Regions from separate parts of the Homo sapiens genome. Here regions 1, 2, 4 and 5 are each linked to region 3. Evidence: promoter capture Hi-C in 16 types of primary human blood cells and fetal thymus (Javierre and others, 2016). All regions are on one chromosome and are shown on one strand. Each heading gives the region's core, a stretch centred on a gene start or on the middle of the fragment in contact. The rest is flanking DNA. Distances are from core to core; before and after follow the strand shown. Region 1 overlaps CAB39 (calcium binding protein 39). Region 2 overlaps CAB39 (calcium binding protein 39). Region 3 holds the start of SP140 (SP140 nuclear body protein). Region 4 overlaps ITM2C (integral membrane protein 2C). Region 5 overlaps CAB39 (calcium binding protein 39).

Region 1 (2,700 bases), core at 195-2,694, 530 kb after region 3:
TGCATAGCACCGTAACACTTCCTGCAAAATACCATTAAACATTCCCACCCTCCACATCACTGCTATTATTTGCAGAGTTACAGATAGGAAAGATAATATTTTCAGAGGACATATTGTGAGTGTGATACACTGTTTATGGAGAAGCAACTTGCATGCTTCCCCCCCACCCCCTGCCGCCCACTCCCCTGCCCAAAGGAAAAAGTAATGATCCAGGAAAAGGAAAAGAATGATCCAGGCTTTGTGTCCCATCTGGCTTGTAGAGCGATCATATGACAGCTAGTTAAGAGTGACTCCCCTAACGTCAGTTCAAACTTTTAGGCATAGAAAAGTTATTTAGAAGTGGACTTAAAGATCCTTGGATTTTATGGCTGGGCATGATGGCTCACACCTGTAATCCCAGCACTTTGGGAGGCCGAGGTGGGTGGCTCCCTTGAGGCCAGGAGTTGAGACCAGCCTAGCCAACATGGTGAAAACCCATCTCTACTAAAAATACAAAAATTAGCTGGGTTGGTGGTGCACACCTATAGTCCCAGCTACTTGGGAGGCTAACGCTGAGGCACAAGAATCACTTGAACCTGGGAGGTGGAGATTACAGTGAGCCAAGATTGCGCTGCTGCACTCCAACCTGGGTGACACAGCGAGACTCCAAAAAAAAAAAAAAAAAAAATCCTTGGATATTTAAGAACCTATGACAAAGGATATGCATTAAACTATTTCTCTTTGGTTAATTTTGTCAAAAAAGGATTTACAAGGTGACAGAAGGTAAGATAGGCAATATTTGGGGTTAGAGATTGGTTGGAACAGTTCACATCAGAACATGTTGAGAAATAACATACTTGTTTATGATTTAGTTGTAGGCTTGACATTAGCATTCATTTGCATGTTTTAAACATTCTTTATAAACAAATATGTAAGTCACTCTATTTCAAACTTAAGGGAAAAACACTCAAGTTTGTTCATCAAATCTTAGGTAAAGCTCAAAAGAAGTGTTATGATACTATGCAATGGATGTATTTTTGTGTTTATATAGAAGGGGAAAACAAAGTGGGGTTGGGGTGTCTGAGAGCCACCTTTTCTTGGGTGTGTGTGGGGAGCACCTTGGGCAGTTAAATATAGGATGTTGAAACTTACAGTCAGAAAACCACTGATCTAAGTGATCCATAAGGTTTTTCTAAAAAGTGTCATCTTTCGGTGTCTGATAGGAGACTGTTTAGTGCCTGTGAATTTAACTACTTCTAGTTTTTTTACTGAAAAATGGTAACTTCCAACATGTTCCCAAGTCACTTCCATTGTTTGTCTTGTTAACTTTGTTTCTTCATAGTGCCTTCTTGGAATAGTTGCATGTTCTCCTTTTGGATGATGTAATACTGTGGTTTATGTGGTTGAAATGTTGTTTTCTACTACCCACAAAAAATTAAGAACTTCTAGAAGTTCATCATCCTCAGGGTTTTATCCAGCGAGTTCTTTCATAGGAGATGGTCAAATCCAGGCAAAAAGAGTACATCTTGACAACTGTCACATAGGGGATTACAGGATCTAATGGGAGATTTTATTCCCCTGTCCAGGCTTCTCTCTAGCTCTGAGACCCTGTGACTGCCTGAATAAGATGGGTGTGCCGAGGAAGTGTGTGCCATATTCAGGGCAGCCCACTGGGGTGCTTAGGAGGAGCAGCGTGAACACCGGGAAAAGAGCATCTGGAGAGACCTAGATAGTAGGCTGTTGCTAGTGCTGTTTGGCTAAACACCCTACCTAACTTTTTGCCTCAGTTGCCTCAGCTGTAAAATAGATACTATCAATTTGATGTACAGTGTGGTGATTAAGGACGCTTTGGATCAAGACAGATCTGAGCTTGTTTGACCACTTAGTACCTTGAGCCTCACGCTCAACCTTGCTAAACTTCACCAGTAAATAGGAGCAGGAGATTGTTAGAAAGGGTTTCATGAAATGATGAGTTCTAGTGCTCAGCATCAGGCCTGGCAGTAGCAGTTGCCCTGTGAGTGGGAGCTGCTGCTCTCTACCTCAGCAGCATCAGTCAGCATGTTCGTCCCCATTTGCGTGGTTAGGAGAGCAATTGATTTGAAGGAAAGAAAAACAAAGTGTTTTGAAAAATACAGTGTTCTGTAATTCTAAGACATCTGTGTATTATCATTTCTTGCATATATTTGTGGATTTCCCTGTTCCTACTGATTTTGAAAGTTATGTAAAATGACTTGCCTAAACACGGGTTTTCTTCCCAGATTAGGATTTAGAAAGTCTGTCTTCCGTTGATCCCAGTGTTTGCTCACATGAACCTTGTGCTGTGTTCTAGGTAGCACAGGCGGAGTGCAGCGGAGGCCCCTGCCGCTGCCGTCATGCCGTTCCCGTTTGGGAAGTCTCACAAATCTCCAGCAGACATTGTGAAGAATCTGAAGGAGAGCATGGCTGTTCTGGAAAAGCAAGACATTTCTGATAAAAAAGCAGAAAAGGTATGGATTTGGCTTTATTTATATTTGAAATATCTTAATTAGCAAATGCAAGACACCTTATATGAGGAATCAGTAAGTCCCAATTTGGGTTTATTTTGGATTTTAAAAATAACATCCAAAAGCAACATATGCTGCTGTTGCAACATACTTTTTCTTCTGTATTTTCGTCTAACAAATAGATTTCTAACTGTTCTGTCAGGTTTTCGAGTTTATTTAAATTGTGTTTATTTCATCT
Region 2 (2,700 bases), core at 142-2,641, 550 kb after region 3:
CAGGAGAACCCATGTACCTTTCACCCATATCCCCAGTGGTAACCTCTCACATAACTATATACAATATCAAAACCAGAGCATTGACATTGGTATAATCCACAGGGCTTGTTCAGATTTCACCAGTTTTACAGTTTGTGTGGATATGCATATAGCTCTATGCAATTGCATCACACTTATCTGTTCTCCAAGTCTATACATTTTATTACTTCAAGAATGTTAAATAAATAGAATCATATAGTGTGTAAACTTTTGAGATGGGCTTTCTTCCACTCAGCATCATTCCCATGAGATCCACACAAGTGGTTGTGAGTGTCACTAGTTCATTGCTCTGGAGAAACAAGTAGGTCATGGTTCCAGGTGCTCTGTCTCACTTCATCCACTTTTTTTCTTCCCCCCCCGAGATGGAGTCTCGCTCTGTCACCCAGGCTGGCATGCGGTGGCACGATCTCGGCTCACTGCAAGCTCCACCTCCTGGGTTCATGCCATTCTACTGCCTCAGCCTCCCCAGTAGCTGGGACTACAGGCGCCTGCCACGCCCGGCTAATTTTTTGTATTTTTAGTTGAGACGGGGTTTCACCGTATTAGCCAGGATGGTCTCGATCTCCTGACCTCATGATCCGCCCGCCTCAGCCTCTTAAAGTGCTGAGATTACAGGCTTGAGCCACCGCACCTGGCCTTTCATCCACTTTTTTAGTTTTACTTTATTCTAACTAGTATATTGGAATTCTACATTGTGTAGTAGGGAAGTGTGTATGAGTGTGTGCGAGAAAGATCTTTGTTTCCTTCATAGATTCTAATTTATTTCTGTATCTATACAAAGTCATGTTCTAATGATGTATATGATGTATGTTCATTCCCCCAAAAAGCAGAAAATACAAGACTATAAAGAAAAAAATTAAGTTTATCCTTAATTCAGTACCACGTGAAATGACTACTGTTAACTTGGTGGGGATTCTCATTCATATTCTAGCTTGTTTTCTCCCTCTCTCTGGGGCAGATAAGTAAATGAGTATGGGGTCATGCTGCTCTGTAACCTGTTGGTGTTTTTTTTGTTTTTTTTTTTTTAATTTTAAATTTTAACATCTTTTCATGTGCATATAGATCTCAATTTTGTTTTTTTTTTTTTAAATATGGAGTCTTGCTCTGTCACCCAGGCTGGAGTGCAGTGGCATAATCTCAGCTCACTGCAACTTCTGCCTCCCAGGTTCAAGCAATTCTTGTGCCTCAGCCTCCCAAGTAGCTGGGATTACAGGTACCTGGCTGATTTTCATATTTTTAATAGAGATGGGGTTTCACCATGTTGGCCAGGCTGGTCTTGAACTCCTGACCTCAAGTGATCGCCACCTTGACCACCTCCCAAAGTGCTGGGATTACAGGTGTGAGCCACCACCCCTGGCCCTCAATTATTTTTAAAGCCTGCCGTGGTTCTTCCATTTTATGGGTACGTAATGATTAAACTAGTTCAGTGGGATAACTTTTACTTCTAATTCTTTGCTGTTGTAAGTAACACTGCATGTACTTACCTTTGTGTACTTGTCTGTTTCCATAGGGTAAATTCCTGAAAGTATAATTCACAGGAAGTTGCAGAAATGAGTCAGAGGCCTTGCACCTTTTAAAACTCTTCAATAACATTTTGCCAAATTGCCCTCCAGTAAAGTTGTACCAATTTATTTTCCTACCAGTGGCGTATCTAAAAGCCTTTGCCTCTGATAAGAAGGAAGAATATTTTATCCTTTTAAGATTGTTACTATTACTATGAAATAGAATCTTTTGTAAGGTTTTTAATGTCTGACTTAGCCATTTGTATACTTCAGCATGTTACTATGTTTGTCTTTAAGTGTGCTTTCTATATTGAGGTTAGAATTGCTACTAACTACTAAAAATTGGGGACAGTGAAGAGGGCAGCCCAGTCTTGTATCTCACCAAGTAAAGTCCTGTCCCTTCATGTGGAAGTAGCCTTCTTGTCACCTTGTTTCCTAACGTAAGGCCGGTTTGGATCTACTGAGTGCTTGAGTCCAGAGGAGGAGTGTTGGTAAGGGCTGTGAGTACTTCAAGGACATTGCATAGAAGCACTAATGGGTATGTGAGCTGTCTTCTCGAGTCTTCTGAAATTGTACTTTTGTATCACTACTTTTTATCAGCAATTGCCTCTAGTGACAGTAAAATAGTGCACTGATAGGTACCGTGGGAATATTGGATTTAAGTCAAGAGAGTTAATACGAAACCTCCTGAGGTTTTGGTGATCTCTGAAAAGGCCATTTGTACTAATGTTTAGCTTACTAATTGCTTATTTTCCCACCCTGTTTTATTTTTTAATGGGAAAGCAGGCAGTGAAAAATCTCATAGCCTTAGTGCTACTTGAAGAGGTTATTATGGACTCTATCCTTAAAAATTTGAAGTCCTGTTACACGTTACTTAACAACAGGGATACATTCCAAAAAATGCATCATTAGGCGATTTCTTCCAGCCTGTTGCTCCTAGGCTACAAATCTGTGTAGCTTGTTACTATAGCGAATACTGTAGGCAGTTGGAACACAATGGCAAGTATTTGTTTATCTAAACATAGAAAAGGTACAGCAAAAATATGGTATTGTATCTGTGGGACCACAGTTGTCTCTGTGGTCTGCTGTTGACCAAGACGTTATGTGGTGCGTGACTATAGTTACCTATGTCCTCACCCTGGGAGGGAAAGTTTAGTTT
Region 3 (2,700 bases), core at 64-2,563:
TAAAGAGGGAGGGAGAGGGAGGGAGAGAGAGGGAGAGGGAGGGAGAGGGAGGGAGAGAGAGGGAGAGAGAGGGAGACAGAGGAGAGAGAGGACAGAGAGAGAGAGAGAGAGGAGAGAGAGAGAGATACTGGAAAAGGTGTCCTCATCAGTGTTCTAGAGTTTGTCTCAACCAGATTGGTGTTTGTTCCTTTGGTAGAAAGAAAGCAGAAGTGTGGAAGGGGTAGAAATTTCTTGCACTCTGTATTTTGCAAACTTATGTATGCAAATTTCCTTGCATATGTGTAATGAACCAGAAAAAGTAGGATTCAGGAGCACATGTTTTGGAAAAATACTGCTTTGCCTCTGGCTTTTCAATCCTCACTACTGTTCTGTCACTGGCCCTGGATTCTACCCATACCCTGGCTCTCATCAGCCCCCTGTCTTTGACCCATTTTTCTGCCTGGATTTCTAGTCCTGTGGTTATATTTTTTATATTTGCCCTTTGCTTCCATTTGTTTATCACTCGACTTTATGCTGATATAGTGTGTTTTTGTAAATTGTTTCAAATCCTTTACAGAATGAGGGCTGGGTATAAATGAAAAATTGTGTGCAAACATAAATGTAATACAGCTATCCTCCTGTATCATATTGTCCTTGAAGGTCTAGATAATCTCAGCTCCAAACCCTTTCCCCATCCAGTGAGAAGGCTGTCACTCTCCTCAAGATTTCAGTGAAATGGTTGAAGCTCATTTTTTTCCCAGTCACCCCTGGCTGCTGTTGTAAAGTGCCCACATATTTGAGAAAACTTAGAATTGCACCTCATTTCTCTGCCCAACCTCAGCACTTGCCTTTGGCTGGAGGAGTTGAGAGAGTTGTCTTTTACCTCTGTCTGCTTTCATGGAGTGCTAAGAGCATCTCCCCCACTTTCTAATGCATGCTATTTCAGTTCTCCCTGGCCCCATGTCCAAACACTGGGCCTAAGCCATCCAGCCCAGGCTCACTAAGGTGCATGGCCAGCCCTGGAGCCTGACTGAAGATTTGAAATGTCTGGTCTTCACTTGTCCTTCTCAGCCACCTCAGCAAGGGGTGGGGACAAATACAGAGTTTACTTCCTCCTCATGATGCCACCTTACCTCAAAACAACTTTGATCTGCTTGAGTTGAATGACTTTTCCACCCTCTTTCCTTGGCAGGAACAAGTGACCCTGTCTTCCGTGGCCTCGTGGGGCTGGCTCTGCTCCTCCTCCCTTGACTGAGAGACGTCATGGAGATTGGGTGGAGGGAGGACTGTAGAGTTGGTGCACCCACGTCAGCTAGTTAGGCAATTTCACTTTTCTTTTCCTCTTTGACTGAGCACCGAGGGGCAGTTGGCAGCTTCACCTCAGAGCTGCAGGAAGGAACGGGGCAGTGAAAATCGAATCGGGTGTGATCCTAGGCCAAGCTCATGGCCCAGCAGGGCCAGCAGGGGCAGATGGCAAGTGGAGACAGCAATCTCAACTTCAGGTGGGTCATCGTCTCCTTTCCCGTCTGTCCTTCATCTCTGGTAGGGTTCCCTTTCATACTTGTTATTTAATGTCTACCCAGCTTCACTCTACAGGTATACAATAGAATTCAGTTACAAATAAATAACGAGGCAATCAGATTTTTTAAATTGCAGGGATTGGCTGTTGGAGAAACTCAAGGATGCCGTGACTCACATCATCTTCCTATTCTCTTACATCTGCAAATGGCTGGACTGGAGCTGTTTGAACATCATGCCTGTTCTGAGGCTTTGTGTAGGATTGGATGATTCCCCGTGACCTCTGAACCCTCTCTTCTCCCCCAGGCCTCCTTTATCCCCACTCCAAAAGACAACTCTGTCTAAAAAGGATCTTTTTAGAAGAATTAAAATCCAAACGCCTGTCTGTTGTCACACTTTCCAGGCTGTGTAGTTGGGGACCGGTTCTGCTCTGAGCCCATCTATGTGGCTCTTAGCCCTAGAATCACTTCAGGATCTCTGAATACTTGGTAGGAGGAAGTGAAAGCAGATGAGACCCAACAAAAAAGGCAAGCAGGTAGAGAGTGAGTGCTGCTTCTGCTTTTTTTATTCTTCTGTTCTGGTATTTTTTACATATCTGGTCAGAGAAGCCTGGAAATCATCTTTAAAAAATGTAAGACAATGAGACCAGTCTGACCAACGTGGAGAAACCCTGTCTTTACTAAAAATACAAAATTAGCTGGGTGTCATGGTGTATGCCTGTAATTCCAGCTACTCAGGAGGCTGAGGCAGGATAATCGCTTGAACCAGGGAGGCAGAGGTTTTGGCGAGCCAAGATCACACCATTACACTTTAGCCTGGGCAACAAGAGTGAAATTCCATCTCAAAAAAAAAAAAAAAAAAAGACAAGTACATCAATACGGTCATTTCTTCTTATCTGTGGATTCTGTATCCATGGATCTAACCAACCATGAATGCAAAATATTTTCTAAAAATTAAAAACATAAATAACAACAATAAAAAGTAATATAAAAATTTAAAATACAGTATAACTATTTGTATAGCATTTACATTGTATTAGGTATTATAAGTCTAGAGATGATTTAAAATATACAGGAGGATGTGCATAGGTTATATGTAAATACTACACCTTTTATATCAGGGACTTGAGCATCCATGGATTTTGGTATCCATGGAGGGTCCTGGAACCAATTCCCCCTGGATACCAAGGGATGACTGTACATT
Region 4 (2,700 bases), core at 111-2,610, 640 kb after region 3:
AAAGTGATGAAATGGAAATCAGCCAGAACCGACGGCGCTGCGGCCTCTGGACGTCGGGGGTCCGAGGCCGGGTGCCCCCTTCCCACCCCACGCCCTGCCGTCTGGGCCTCCCTGCTCCCCTCTCTTTTCTCCATTCCCAGCCTCTCGCTGGGCTGTCCCCCGACCCCACGGGGAGGGCTCCCAACTGCCCCAGTGCCCTTGCATCCTGGGTCCCCGGGCTCTGTGCGCGTTCCCCCACCCCTGTCATCCCCCTCCCCTACCCCGGCTTCCTCCACTTTCCCTCTGGCCGGGGGGGAGAGAAGGCATTTCCGCCGTGGAAAACTGTCTGAGCTGCGTGCCTTGTGTCCGGGAAGGGCCCGCAGGGGGCAGAACGCGTGGCGGGCAGGGACAGGGAGGGAGGGAGAGCTGGCCCAGCCAGGTTTTATTGTGCCTGGCAAAGGTGTCTACGTGGGCGCCGCCCCCAGCGGTCTTGTGGCTTACCAAGCCCATGTCCTCCCCGCCTCCCCACCCCGCATTGAGGCAGGACTGAGAAAGTCTTTGTCCACTGCTTCCCCACTTCCAGATGCAGGCTTCTGAAGAGTCTTCCTGAACGCCTAGCCCCCTCCCCAGGTTTTGTGGCTCAGGTTCAGTCTTGCCTGGGGCATTAAGGGGCCTGCAGAGGATGACCTGGACCCTGGAGGAGGGGGCGCCGGAGAGGGCCGTCAGAGTTGGGTGTCAGCCTGGGCAGAGACCCTGAGTGAGGAATGCCAGGAGACTGAGAACCCCCTGCCCTTTTATGGTGGTCACTGCAGCAACCAGTGGCTCAGAGCCACAAGAGTTCAACAACCACCTAGGCGAGGTTGGGGGTTGCTGTGCACCCCATGAGAGCAGCTCCCCCCTTTTCATCTGAAGCTTAGGTGGAGGGGGCGCTCCATATTTGAAGAAGATGGTTCTGCAGCTTTAAAAGTTTGCAAGGGGTTCTTCAAGACTCCTTTTCTTTGGAAGGGAAGCTGCCCTCCACTCAGCCTGGGGAGGGGCAGGGATGGGGGCAGGAGGCAGCACGCTTGCCCATCTCTTTTCCTAGCCACCTCTTCCTGGAGATATTTGAGGAGGGAGGACCAGGTCAGACAGTGGGAGGGTGTTATTCCAACTCCATCAGAAGGTCCCCCAGATTTTGCAGGAGCGGCACATTCTCCAGCCGCAGCCTGCTGATGGCATGGGTTTGGGCAGTCTGACAGAGACCTGCATCTCGGGGCATAACTGACATCCTAGCTTCTGGCTTCTCATCAGGCTCTGAAATTGAGCGTCCTTTCTTCCCCCTCACCCAGCATGAAATGGAAATATCAACATCTTCCTGCGTGCTGTTTGTAATGGCCTTGAGCCTGCTGAGTACCTCCTCCCTCAAACTTTGTCAGTTGGGCAGGGTCCCCTCCCTCTCTAATTGGCAAGGGGGAGCTTAGGACTATGCGATCTGGGGAAAGAATTAGAATCCTGGCATCTTTAGGACAGAACTGCATGTTAGTAAACTTTCACAGCTTCCCAAGGCCCTGGCGTGGTGCAGAGGGACTTTAGGTGTTGCAAGTTGGCTCTGCCCATCACCTGCTAGATTTGGAGCCTTGGAAACAGTTCACTTCTGCGGGCCTCCTGTTGCCCCACTTGGCCAACCCGCACATTTCCTCCTTACCCAGTTTCTGGCAAGGAGCCAGGCCTCGTCTCCTGCCCCCAGCAGTGAGCAGGCAGGAGGCCCATTTCTCAGCTGTAGCTCTGTGAGCCGAGGGATGGCAGCCAGGAGGCTGCTTTCTCAGGGCAGGGCGTGTAGATTTTGTCCCGTACTGTTGGGAATGCCCAGGAAAGCTTATTAAAACGTTTCTTCTGGCTGGCAGTGACCCCAGAACCCTCCTTGGTGTCTGAACTGGACTCCAAAACAAGATTTATTTTATTTTATCTATTTTATTTTATTTTATTTTTTTTTTTGAGACAGAGTCTCACTTTTACCCAGGCTAGAGTTCCGTGGCACGATCTTGGCTCATTGCAACCTTCACTTCCAGGTTCAAGTGATTCTCCTGCCTCAGCCTCCCAAGTAGCTGGGAATAAAGGCACCTGCCACCATGCCCGGCTAATTTTTGTATTTTTAGTAGAGACAGGGTTTCACCATGTTGGCCAGACTGGTCTCAAATTCCTGACCTCAGGTGATCTTCCCACCTCAGCCTCCCAAATTGTTGGGATTACAGGTGTCAGCCACCACACCCGGCCCAAAACAAGATGTAAAAAGTGATCCGCAGGAGGAGCACTCGGTGAACAGATGATTGTGCGGTGAACAGATGATTGTGCGTTGGGGCAGTTCTTGACCTGTGTCCAGGCCCAGAGTGAGGGCGGGGTGGGGGCAGGGTGAGGCGGCAGGAGCACCCTCTCGGTGGGCACTGCCCCTGCTTCTGAGCAAAAACTGCAACACAAGGAGGATTTTGTCTGTGGACCTGAGACTGGAAGGAAGTGCCTCAGTGGGCCAGGGAGGGATGGGGGTGGGGGCCAGCTGGGCTTCCAGCTGCCCGGCCTCCCCCCCTGGTGTTTTGACTCTGAGATAATGAGGAGCTGGGACACTGCCAGCTTGGGAAGTGGGCTGGACCGGAAGCACCCCCTGGGACAGCAAAGCACTCCCTCCCAGCGCCAACTGGATCCCTCCTCCCCTTTGGGGGCCCACTGGCTGGCCATGCCCCTCTTAGC
Region 5 (2,700 bases), core at 23-2,522, 590 kb after region 3:
TTGATACTGAAACTTAGCAACTTCTTAAAAGTGTAAAGAAGCCTCATAAGATCATAAGGAAAATGTATATATGCTTTTCACAGCTTTCTAGAATTTTTTGACATTTGATTTTCTTGAGACTTGTAAACCTGGATATGTTGAAGGGTATTTGTTAATTTTACTTTTCAAAGATACTTTAAAACAGTAGAGCTAGCAATGACACCTTGCATTTCATTTCAACACTGCTTCAAGGTTTCTTTTGTATATAATTCTTAGAATGCTCATTTCTTTTAAATGGTTTAATTTGTACAGCAGAGGAATGTTATTGTAGTAGTATGTAACTATTACCTAATACTGAGTTTTTGCAAAAAACAATGAATGCTCATATGTAATTGAAATACTTCAGATCACATGAAAATGCTGATTTAACATTTAAGTATCACAGCATTAAAAGAAAAAGAAAGTAAACCAGTCCTTTGTATTCAGTTACCTAATGGGGTGCCATCAATAAGCTGCGATACAGCCCTGGAGCTCAGTCAGCCACACCTTCCTGCATCCTATTGGCCTTATTCATTTTAAATGAGTTAATGAATCTGCCAGATCTGTGAATGATAGAGATTATGCTAAATTAATGCTGATTCTTTGTGTGTGTGGGAAATCTCTGTAGAGCACCTTTTCTTTCTTAGACTAAGTAACCCAGTACAATAGTTGTGAACTGAATAATTAAAACTTTGGCTTCTCTTAGGAAAAGACGACTTCCTAGTCATAGGTGTCCTATGGGGAAATTTATTTTTTTTAATGTCCTGTTCCTTAATGCTGCAAATTATCAGTATTTATAAAGTAACTGATTTTGCACCACTTTTTTGTTACTGTGACCACGGCAGAACAATGTCTTCTAGACTATATCTATGTAAAGTTATTAGAATGGTATCTGTTCATTTTAGTGATATGAAGATCACAACTAACAACTGACAAATCAGAGTTTGCCAGTTCAAATTCAGCATGGCTGCAGCTGATTAAGAAATTGATATGATTATTCTTTGCTAGCCTCTCTTACTAATGGAATTATATACTGGCCAGTAAAATGGGCCTCCCAATTGCTGTTTCAGCAGGTTTTAAACCTTCAGGAACACCAGTTAGGAAAATAGCTCCAGAAAATATAGATATATTTTATTTTTATTAAAATGGCAGTCTACATCATAATTGGCATTTCTCAAGACTGTCTTTACCAGAATCTGTGTGAAATAAGGCAATCTAGTCTCCTTGAAAAAAAAATCTCTTGGATGTTTAGGAAGGAAGACTTGGCCGTGATGTGGTGTCCTGGCTTTGTGGTGTAGTGCTGTGTGTATGGAGTTAGTGTAAAAACATGGATTACACCAAGTGGAAGAAACGTCTTCTTGCCAAGCTCATTCTTAGAACTTACACATCTAGAACAGCTTCCACTTTGGCAGTGAGGTCGTAGCCTTTTAGGTGGAAGAAGTGAGGGTGCAGCGTGTCAGACACAACATTCATGTTACTCTTACATTGGAATCTGAAGGTAGTTCAGACTTCGTGGGTTTTGTTTTTAAGCAAAACAATGTGAAAACATTTAAGTTTGAAATGTTGCATTTGAAGTTATGATCATTTAATATATTCATATTACCAAGACTATTATACTGGAAGTGGTTTTTGTGTTATAAAGGTTTAATTTTACATAAGGCAGTTACTTAATGTGATTTTTAACCCTTAAAAAAGTGGAGATGTATACATTTGTTAACAATGCCATGAAAGCATTTTCTTTCTCCTAAGGAAAAGTGAATTTCTTATCAGAATATCTGGCTGGCCCTGTAATTTAAATTAAAATAAAATTTTGGAGAAACAGCATTGTCTGTCTTTATGATGTGTTATAGACAGTTGCATTTGTGTTACTGTGAACAGCTTCATCAGGAGACACACAAGCCCGAATTTTATCACCAACTGAAAGTGGAGGGACAGTTAACACCCATTCCTGTCTGCCTTTTTCCCTGTTCAGGGGCTTCACTTCCCCCCCACCGCCCCCGTGCTCATGTTTTCCTTACCCTTCCTGAGTAAAATCACACCTTTTAATGGTACCATTTCTTAGACCCTAACGTTTGAGGAGTAGATCCTCTCTTGCGCTGTTAGCAACACCGCGAGGCTAAACTAGAACACTCGGCCCGGAGTATTCACAGGTTACTGATGTGAAATGATCATGAAGGCGAGGGGACCGTGGAAGCAGGCACAAGAACTCTGGCACCGTAAAGAATGTCCCTCGTCTGCCTTCCAGGGTGCCTCGTAATCCTTAGTTCACAGCCCTGCCCTCGACTTTAACCCCTGTCAGTAAATGAAATCTTATTCTCTGGAGTGAAGGCAAGGGACATGCTCTTGCCAAAAACACTTCATCCGAATAACAATGTCCTATTTGTTATTTCTGTCAAGTAGTTCAGTCTACTTGTACGTTGTAGTTCCCCAAAGGTGACAAGGGCCCATTAAGTCATAACTTGTGACTTGGCCACTTATAAGGATCACCAGGCTGAGGACTGGATTCACGCTTCAGCTCAAATTCCACTTCCTACCACAATCCCCCATCAAATGCCCTCCTCCCCTTGCCAAAGAAGCTCCAGAACGTTGCACTTCAGGCAGCTCAGGAGTAGTGCAGTTCTCACCCAGCCTTCCTAGTTAGGCTCCAACAAGGTCCTGATCGGGAAGTGCTCTGAGGCTGCA

What was found. The method cuts DNA at HindIII sites, captures the fragments that hold promoters and counts their contacts. A CHiCAGO score of 5 or more calls a contact.
Region 1: a contact is called between a fragment that was not itself captured here and the fragment with the promoter of SP140 in region 3, in 5 of 17 cell types (neutrophils, activated CD4 T cells, non-activated CD4 T cells and 2 more). The highest score is 8.9, in neutrophils.
Region 2: a fragment that was not itself captured here is called in contact with the fragment with the promoter of SP140 in region 3 in 5 of 17 cell types (activated CD4 T cells, non-activated CD4 T cells, naive CD8 T cells and 2 more); the score reaches 9.9 in activated CD4 T cells.
Region 4: a fragment that was not itself captured here is called in contact with the fragment with the promoter of SP140 in region 3 in 1 of 17 cell types (activated CD4 T cells); the score reaches 5.5 in activated CD4 T cells.
Region 5: a contact is called between a fragment that was not itself captured here and the fragment with the promoter of SP140 in region 3, in 1 of 17 cell types (naive CD4 T cells). The highest score is 5.2, in naive CD4 T cells.

The regions. Positions count from the first base shown.
Region 1 is chr2:230,757,651-230,760,350 of GRCh38, forward strand. It overlaps CAB39 (calcium binding protein 39), which reads left to right. Exons shown (of 9, transcript NM_016289.4): 2 at 2,309-2,465. The coding sequence starts at 2,352. Among named protein-coding and RNA genes, the nearest start is that of CAB39, 46 kb to the left of the region's middle. RefSeq lists an enhancer at 1,270-1,369. The HindIII fragment of the contact is 5,262 bases long and covers 1-2,700 here.
Region 2 is chr2:230,776,311-230,779,010 of GRCh38, forward strand. The region is part of intron 2 of CAB39 (calcium binding protein 39); the gene reads left to right. Among named protein-coding and RNA genes, the nearest start is that of CAB39, 65 kb to the left of the region's middle. The HindIII fragment of the contact is 3,089 bases long and covers 1-2,700 here.
Region 3 is chr2:230,224,423-230,227,122 of GRCh38, forward strand. It overlaps SP140 (SP140 nuclear body protein), which reads left to right and starts at 1,314. Exons shown (of 27, transcript NM_007237.5): 1 at 1,314-1,481. The coding sequence starts at 1,423. It also overlaps a transcript of SP110 not described here. RefSeq lists enhancers at 1,194-1,403, 1,634-1,683, 1,754-1,833, 1,854-1,903. The HindIII fragment of the contact is 6,572 bases long and covers 1-2,700 here.
Region 4 is chr2:230,865,727-230,868,426 of GRCh38, forward strand. The region is part of intron 1 of ITM2C (integral membrane protein 2C); the gene reads left to right. Among named protein-coding and RNA genes, the nearest start is that of ITM2C, 2.1 kb to the left of the region's middle. RefSeq lists an enhancer at 1-532 and a silencer at 316-415. The HindIII fragment of the contact is 942 bases long and covers 890-1,831 here.
Region 5 is chr2:230,819,234-230,821,933 of GRCh38, forward strand. It overlaps CAB39 (calcium binding protein 39), which reads left to right. Exons shown (of 9, transcript NM_016289.4): 9 at 1-1,842. Among named protein-coding and RNA genes, the nearest start is that of ITM2C, 44 kb to the right of the region's middle. The HindIII fragment of the contact is 3,617 bases long and covers 1-2,700 here.